Linked DNA regions of Homo sapiens: region 2 is linked to region 1. Evidence: promoter capture Hi-C in human tissues and cell types (Jung and others, 2019). All regions are on one chromosome and are shown on one strand. Each heading gives the region's core, a stretch centred on a gene start or on the middle of the fragment in contact. The rest is flanking DNA. Distances are from core to core; before and after follow the strand shown.

Evidence for each region. The method cuts DNA at HindIII sites, captures the fragments that hold promoters and counts their contacts. A contact is called where the count stands out against the background at its distance.
Region 2: a fragment that was not itself captured here is called in contact with the fragment with the promoter of CFHR5 in region 1 in 1 of the 25 tissues and cell types used here (adrenal gland).

What each region holds. Positions count from the first base shown.
Region 1 is chr1:196,975,479-196,979,310 of GRCh38, reverse strand. CFHR5 (complement factor H related 5) reads right to left here and starts at 1,755. Exons shown (of 10, transcript NM_030787.4): 1 at 1,589-1,755. The coding sequence starts at 1,646. The HindIII fragment of the contact is 10,428 bases long and covers 1-3,832 here.
Region 2 is chr1:196,937,560-196,941,391 of GRCh38, reverse strand. No RefSeq gene overlaps it. Among named protein-coding and RNA genes, the nearest start is that of CFHR2, 4.3 kb to the left of the region's middle. The HindIII fragment of the contact is 3,455 bases long and covers 344-3,798 here.

The DNA.
Region 1 (3,832 bases), core at 506-3,005:
ATCATTAAGTGATGTATGAGTGTACACACACACACACACACACACACACACACAGACAATTACCTATATATAAAACCTTGCAATTTATTTGCCTATTTACATTTTGCTTTTCTTTTAGGACACTCTAAGTAGTAGTGAGGGGTGGGTGGCGTTGTCATATTCTTTCCAGCTTCTTTGCTACAGCATGAAGCACAATATATTGCTTGATTCATGTTTTGCTACTGGAAGCATGCAGTTTTCTATTTGTACAAAAGTGTTGCTTTCGTCTGTTATTTCTGCTGTTTGGCCAGTTTCTAAATAGACACCAAAACAAAAGTGTAATGCACACTTACAGGTCATTTAACACCTAGACAACTTTTAATAGAATTTCACTAAAGTTTATCCTGGGACTGGACTGAAGCTTGAAAGTTTTGTGGGGTTAGGAATTGTCAAAATTCTACATATTATCCTCATAATTTTCACTTATCTTCCTCTGCTTCCACCCCCCTTTAGAAATCCTTGTGTAATGCCATTTGTAACAGATGTTTAAGCCACTTAATAAATATCATAAACACAGACTTAAGAAAAATCAAATACACTCATGCAATCGCACTCTTGTGATTATAGCTCAGTACTAAAAGTGAAAACAAAATAAAATGAATTTTAGGCCCATAGAAATAATGTTTTGCAACATTTGTAAGGGCATATCTTAAAAAGAAAGCATTTTATGGTTCATATTTTTCTCTTATGTCAGGACTGAGAAGAAAGTGTTCAAAAAATTTAAAGATCTGTAAACATTAGAAAGCAGTAAAGCAGTAAAATAAAAACTTTCTGGAAATCAAAGAGTATATAGCACAATGATTGAAACTTCACGTACACACATAGTTTAATCAGTATCCTAGACCTTGTTAGAGATTTTGTTTGCAATCCTTTTGATATAGTGGCTTTAATTTCCACATGAAATAAAATGGGATAGTTTATAATGTTATAAGAATCAGTTTATAGTATTAATAAAGAAGTGATATATTATTTCACTTTTGAAATTTGTGGAAGAGCTCAGAAGAAACAATTTTTTGGCAGTTCACTGGTTTATATATAAAAATAATATTTTCTATTGTTTCATTAAAATATATTTCCCTGTTGAATGATAATTAGGCTGAAATGAGAATTCCTTCATTTTAATAACATTTAAAATGTAAATTATCAAATCTATGAAAATAAAATTCTCAAAACATAATGAAGGTGGCCAAATCTTTTGGGGTTGATTTTTCTAGTCAGTGGCATTGCAGAGTTTATGCAGAATTACACTAATATTTCACCTTGTCATCTTTATTATAGCAGATTTTCTCTCCTTTGATTTCTCTTTACATTATCTATTTGGTGACCATTTACCCTTAGCAAACTAGAGAACGGAGAGAATTAATTTCATTCAATTTTCCTGCTAATTGCATGTTGGAAAATATTTCCAGAAAATAGATGAATATTGTGATACCCCTTCAAATTATCCTCAGCTATTTATTCATTTAAAAATATTTGTATGCATACACACACACAATCAATAAATACATTTGAAAAGGAACTAAAATATTCGGATCTGTTTTCAACTTACCTTCTCCCCCAACAGTGGATACCCATGAGATTAGGATTACACTGAATAAGAGCAACATGCTTGGTAGTCTCAATCGTATATAACTAAAAATACTCCAGTGATGGTGGTGTTGCTTTAAATCTGCTTTCATTAACAGTTACAAGCATGACTTTGAATTTCAATGTACTAAGGGGAAGCTAGTTTAGTAAAGCCCTTTGTGGAAAACATCAAAGTTCATGGAGGGTTGTGTGAAATAAGCAAATAGTATCTAATCAGTGTCTTCACAATAATATTCTCAGCTCGTTATGTAATATTTATTTAAGCAAAATAACTGCTGTTCAATTTCCTTGTTGTAGTCACCGAGTCTCTGAGTTTGGAACAATCAGAAATGGACTGTTTAGAGGAGAGAGGAAGCTCCCCACCGCCGGCCCCCTGGGTTTTTTTTTTTTTTCTAGCCAAGGGTTCAGCTGTTTCAAAAGGCAAGCAAGTGCAAGTCATCAGTCCTCATCTTAATACAACAATATCACTTTTGTAGTTGTAAATTCCCTTTTAAAACTGGCACTAAGAATTAGGTACCTTCTTAACAGTTTTAATATTTCATAAACTATAAAAGGTCTAATCAAGAATTATTTTTGCTGGCCGGGCGCAATGGCTCAAGCCTGTAATCCCAGCACTTTGGGAGGCCGAGGCGGGTGGATCACAAGGTCAGGAGATCGAGACCATCCTGGCTAACACGGTGAAACCCGTCTCTACTGAAAAATACAAAAAAAATTTAGCCAGGCGTGGTGGCGGGCGCCTGTAGTCCCAGCTACTCGGGAGGCTGAGGCAGGAGAATGGCGTAAAACCGGGAGGCAGAGCTTGCCGTGAGTGGAGATCGCGCCACTGCACTCCAGCCTGGGCGACAGAGCGAGACTCTGTCTCAAAAAAAAAAAAAAAAAAAAAAAGAATAATTTTTGCCAAGTAACGTTTCCTGAAATGTTTGAAGAACAGAATTATAATTCAAAATCATTTTGTTCAGGTGGGACTTCGAGAATGGCTATGTGAGGGTCTTGGTATATTCACTCCCAACCAAAAGGCAGCAATAAAACTGGATAAAAATTTAAAAGTAACCATTGGTTGTCTCTGGAAATTGGCCAAACAGCATAATGTTGGGAAATATTTTTTCCAGAAAGTCTCCATAAAATTCAGTAAAAGAGAGCGGATGCTTTCATCCACCTCTGTCTCGCAGCCCAATTCCGTGGCTCAGAAGTTGAACCCTGGATGGGCAGGCAGGCTATGTGGACTGGAAGCTCTGCTCCCCTGCTGGAGAAGAGTGACTTTATAGCTTGGAAAGGTCCATGCCCGAGGATCCTATTGAATACAAAGAGATTACAGTGGGAAACAATCAGAGAAGACTAGAGGATACTAGCTGAAGCAAGCAACAAAGTGCCCAGCCTGAGAGAAATTTAACATTTAATGGGGAAATTTACAGAAACAGCCTAATGATCTCACTAAGAGGAAACTTACTTATGGTGGTTCAGAAGTCAATGGGAATGCACATAGCTATGTCCAATCAAGAAACCAGAGAAGTCCCTGTGAGCTATTAGTAGTCTCCACTATTGATTCTAGTCTATCTAAACCTTGTCATTTCCAATTACTACACTACCTAAAGTATCTAAATATTAAGCATCACACTCTAGACCATTTCAACAATCTTTTTAGCTCACTTACTCTACTAAATTTGTTCCAAACATTCAATGACCCTGACACTTTTTCACTATTCTCTTCCCTTCATTTTCTCTCTTCCCACCACATCTAAATTAGATTCCATGGCTCATCACTGTCAGTCAGTCCCTTGCACACACTCTCCTGCCCATTCGTTCCTTTCTATCTGTAATCCAAGTCTTAGAAAACCTCAATCCTTTGCAAATAAATTCTCTACCTGCCCTGTGCCTGAATTGAAGCAGCAGAGTGTGTCTACAAGAAAAACAAAGGCAACTGTGCTGACTTGCCTTGCTTTAAATTAATGAACACGGTCCTAAATAATTTCCACACTGCTTTTCCCCTCTCCTGTTTTCATTATCTCCCTCCTTAACCACCAATCCTCACTTTGTGCTTTGCTAATGACTTCATTTATTTTTTCATCTAGATATAGAATCAATCAGAAGAAAACTACCTGCTGTTCACACGCATCCTTTTCTGCATTGTCTCTTGCTTCACTGGATGTTGATCTTTACTCCTATCTTGTTATGGTCTCTACCAGATTTGATCCCATCTTTTCTGTGC
Region 2 (3,832 bases), core at 822-3,321, 38 kb after region 1:
TTCCAGTAGGGGACAACTTACACTTCATACAGGTGAGTGCCCCTCTGGGACAAAGCTTCCAGAGGAAGGATCAGGCAGCAATATTTGCTGTTCTGCAATATTTGCTATTCTGCAGCCTCTGCTGGTGATACCCAGGCAAACAGGGTCTGGAGTGGACCTCCAGCAAAATCCAACAGACCTGCAGCTGAGGGACCTGACTGTTAGAAGGAAAACTAACAAACAGAAAGGAATAGCATCAACAACAACAAAAAGGACATCCACACCAAAACCCCATCTGTAGGTCACCAACATCAAAGACCAAAGGTAGATAAAAACCACAAAGATGGGGAGAAACTAGAGCAGAAAAGCTGAAAATTTGAAAAACCAGAGCACCTCTTCTCCTCCAAAGATCGTGGGACAAAGCTGGACAGAAAATGACTTTGACGAGTTGACAGAAGTAGGCTTCAGAAGGTCAATAATAACAAACTTCTCCGAGCTAAAGGAGGATGTTTGAGCCCATTGCAAGGAAGCTAAAAATCTTCAGAAAAGATTAGATGAATGGCTAACTAGAATAAACAGCATAGAGAAGACCTTAAATGACCTGATGGAGCTAAACACCATGGCACGAGAACTTCGTGACACATGCACAAGCTTCAATAGCTGATGCAATCAAGTGGAAGAAAGGATATCAGTGATTGAAGATCAAATTAATGAAATAAAGTGAGAAGAGAAGTTTAGAGAAAAAAGAGTAAAAATGAATGAACAAAGCCTCCAAGAAATATGGGACTATGTGAAAAGACAAAATCTACGTTTGATTGGTGTACCTGAAAGTGACGGGGAGAATGGAACCAAGTTGGAAAATACTCTTCAGGATATCATCCAGGAGAACTTCTCCAACCTAGCATGGCAGGCCAACATTCAAATTCAGGAAATACAGAGAACATCACAAAGATACTCCTTGAGAAGAGCAACCCTAAGACACATAACTGTCAGATTCACTAAGGGTGAAATGAAGGAAAAAATGTTAAGGGCAGCCAGAGAGAAAGGCCAGGTTACCCACAAGGGGAAGCCCATCAGACTAACAGCGGATCTCTCAGCAGAAAATCTATAAGCCAGAAGACAGTGGGGGCCAATACGCAACAATCTTAAAAGAATTTTCAACCCAGAATTTCATATCCAGCCAAACTAAGCTTCATAAGTGAAGGAGAAATAAAATCCTTTACAGACAAGCAAATGCTGAGAGATTTTGTCACCACCAGGCCTGCCTTACAAGTGCTCCTGAAGGAAGCACTAAACATGGAAAGGAACAACTGACACCAGCCACTGCAAAAACATGCCAAATTGTAAAGACCATTGATGCTATGAAGAAACTGCATCAATTAATGGGCAAAATAACCAGCTAACATCATAATGACAGGATCAAATTCATACATAACAATATTAACCTAAAAGGTAAATGGGCTAAATGCCCCAATTAAAAGACACAGACTGGCAAATTGGATAAAGAGTCAAGACCCATCAGCGTGCTGTATTCAGGAGACCCATCTCACGTGCAGAGACACACATGGCTCAGAATAAAAGGATGGAGGAATATCTACCAAGCAAATGGAGAGCAAAAAAAAAGCAGGGGTTGCAATCCTAGTCTCTGATAAAACAGACTTTCAACCAACAAAGATCAAAAGAGACAAAGAAGGCTATTACATAATGGCAAAGGGATCAATTCAACAAGAAGAGCTAACTATCCTAAATATATATGCACCCAATACAGGAGCACCCAGATTCTAAGCAAGTCCTTAGAGACCTACAAAGAGGCTTAGACTCCCACACAATAATAATGGGAGATTTTAACACCCCACTGTCAATATCAGACAGATTAATGAGATAGATGGTTGAGAAGGATATCCAGGACTTGAACTCAGCTCTACACCAAGCAGACCTAATAGAAATCTACAGAACTCTCCACCCCAAATCAACAGAATATACATTCTTCTCAGCACCACATCGTACTTATTCTAAAATTGACCACATAGTTGGAAGTAAAGCACTCCTCAGCAAACGTAAAAGAACAGAAATCACAACAAACTGTCTCTCAGACCACAGTGCAATCAAATTAGAACTCAGGATTAAGAAACTCACTCAAAACCACACAACTACAAGGAAACTGAACAACCTGCTCCTGAATGACTACTGGGCAAATAATGAAATGAAGGCAGAAATAAATACGTTCTTTGAAACCAAGAAGAACAAAGACACAACTTACCAGAATCTCTGGGACACATTTAAAGCAGTATAGAGAGGGAAATTTATAGCATCAAATGCCCACAAGAGAAAGCAGGAAAGATCTAAAATCGACACCTTAACCTCACAATTAAAAGAAGTAGACAAGCAAGAGCAAACAAATTCAAAAGCTAGCAGAAGGCAAGAAATAACTAAGATCAGAGCAGAACTGAAGGACATAGACACACAAAAAACCCTTCAAAAAATCAAGGAATCCAGGAACTGGTTTTTTGAAAGAATCAACAAAATTAACATACCCCTAGCAATACTAATAAAGAAGAAAAGAGAAAGGAATCAAATAGACGCAATAAAAAATGATAAAGGGGATATCACCACCGATCCCACAGAAATACAAACTACCATCAGAGAATACTATAAACACCTCTACGCAAATAAACTAGACAATCTAGAAGAAATGGATAAATTCCTGAACACATACATCCTCCCAAGACTAAACCAGGAAGAATTTGAATGTCTGAATAGACCAATAACAGGTTCTGAAATTGAGGCAATAATTAATGTCCTACCAACCAAAAAAAGTCCAGGAGCAGATGGATTTACAGCTGAATTCTACCAAAGGTACAAAGAGGAGCTGGTACCATTCCTTCTGAAACTATTCCAATCAATAGAAAAAGCGGGACTCCTCCCTAACTCATTTTATGAGGTCAACATCACCCTGACACCAAAACCTGGCAGAGACGCAACAAAAAAATAGAATTTTAGACCAATATCCCTGATGAACATTGATGCAAAAATCCTCAATAAAATACTGGCAAACGGAATCCAGCAGCACATCAAAAAGCTTATCCACCACGATCAAGTCGGCCTCATCTCTAGGATGCAAGGCTGGTTAAACATATGCAAATCAATAAACATACTTCACCACATAAACAGAACCAAAGACAAAAACCACATGATTATCTCAATAGATGCAGAAAAGGCCTTCAACAAAATTCAACAGCCTTCATGCTAAAAACTCTCAGGGAACTAGGTATTGATGGAATACATCTCAAAATAATAAGAGCTATTTATGACAAATCCTCAGCGAATATCATTCTAAATGGGCAAAAACTGGAAGCATTACCTTTGAAAACTGACACACGACAGGGATGTCCTCTCTCACCACTCCTATTCAACATAGTTTTGGAAGTTCTGGCCAGGGATTTCCGTCAAGAGAAAGAAACAAAGGGTATTCAATTAGGAAAAGAGGAAGTCAAATTGTCTCTGTTTGCAGATGACATGATTGTATATTTAGAAAACCCCATCGTCTCAGCCCAAAATCTCCTTAGGCTGGTAAGCAACTTCAGCAAAGTCTCAGGATACAAAGTCAATGTGCAAAAATCACAAGCTTTCCTACACACCAATAACAGACAAGCAGAAAGCCAAATCATGAGTGAACTCTCACTCACAATTGCTACAAGGAGAATAAAATACCTAGGAATCCAACTTACAAGGGATGTGAAGGACCTCTTCATGGAGAACTATGATCCACTGCTCAACGAAATAAAAAAGGACACAAACAAATGGAAGAACATTTCATGCTCATGGATAGGAAGAATCAATATTGTGAAAATGG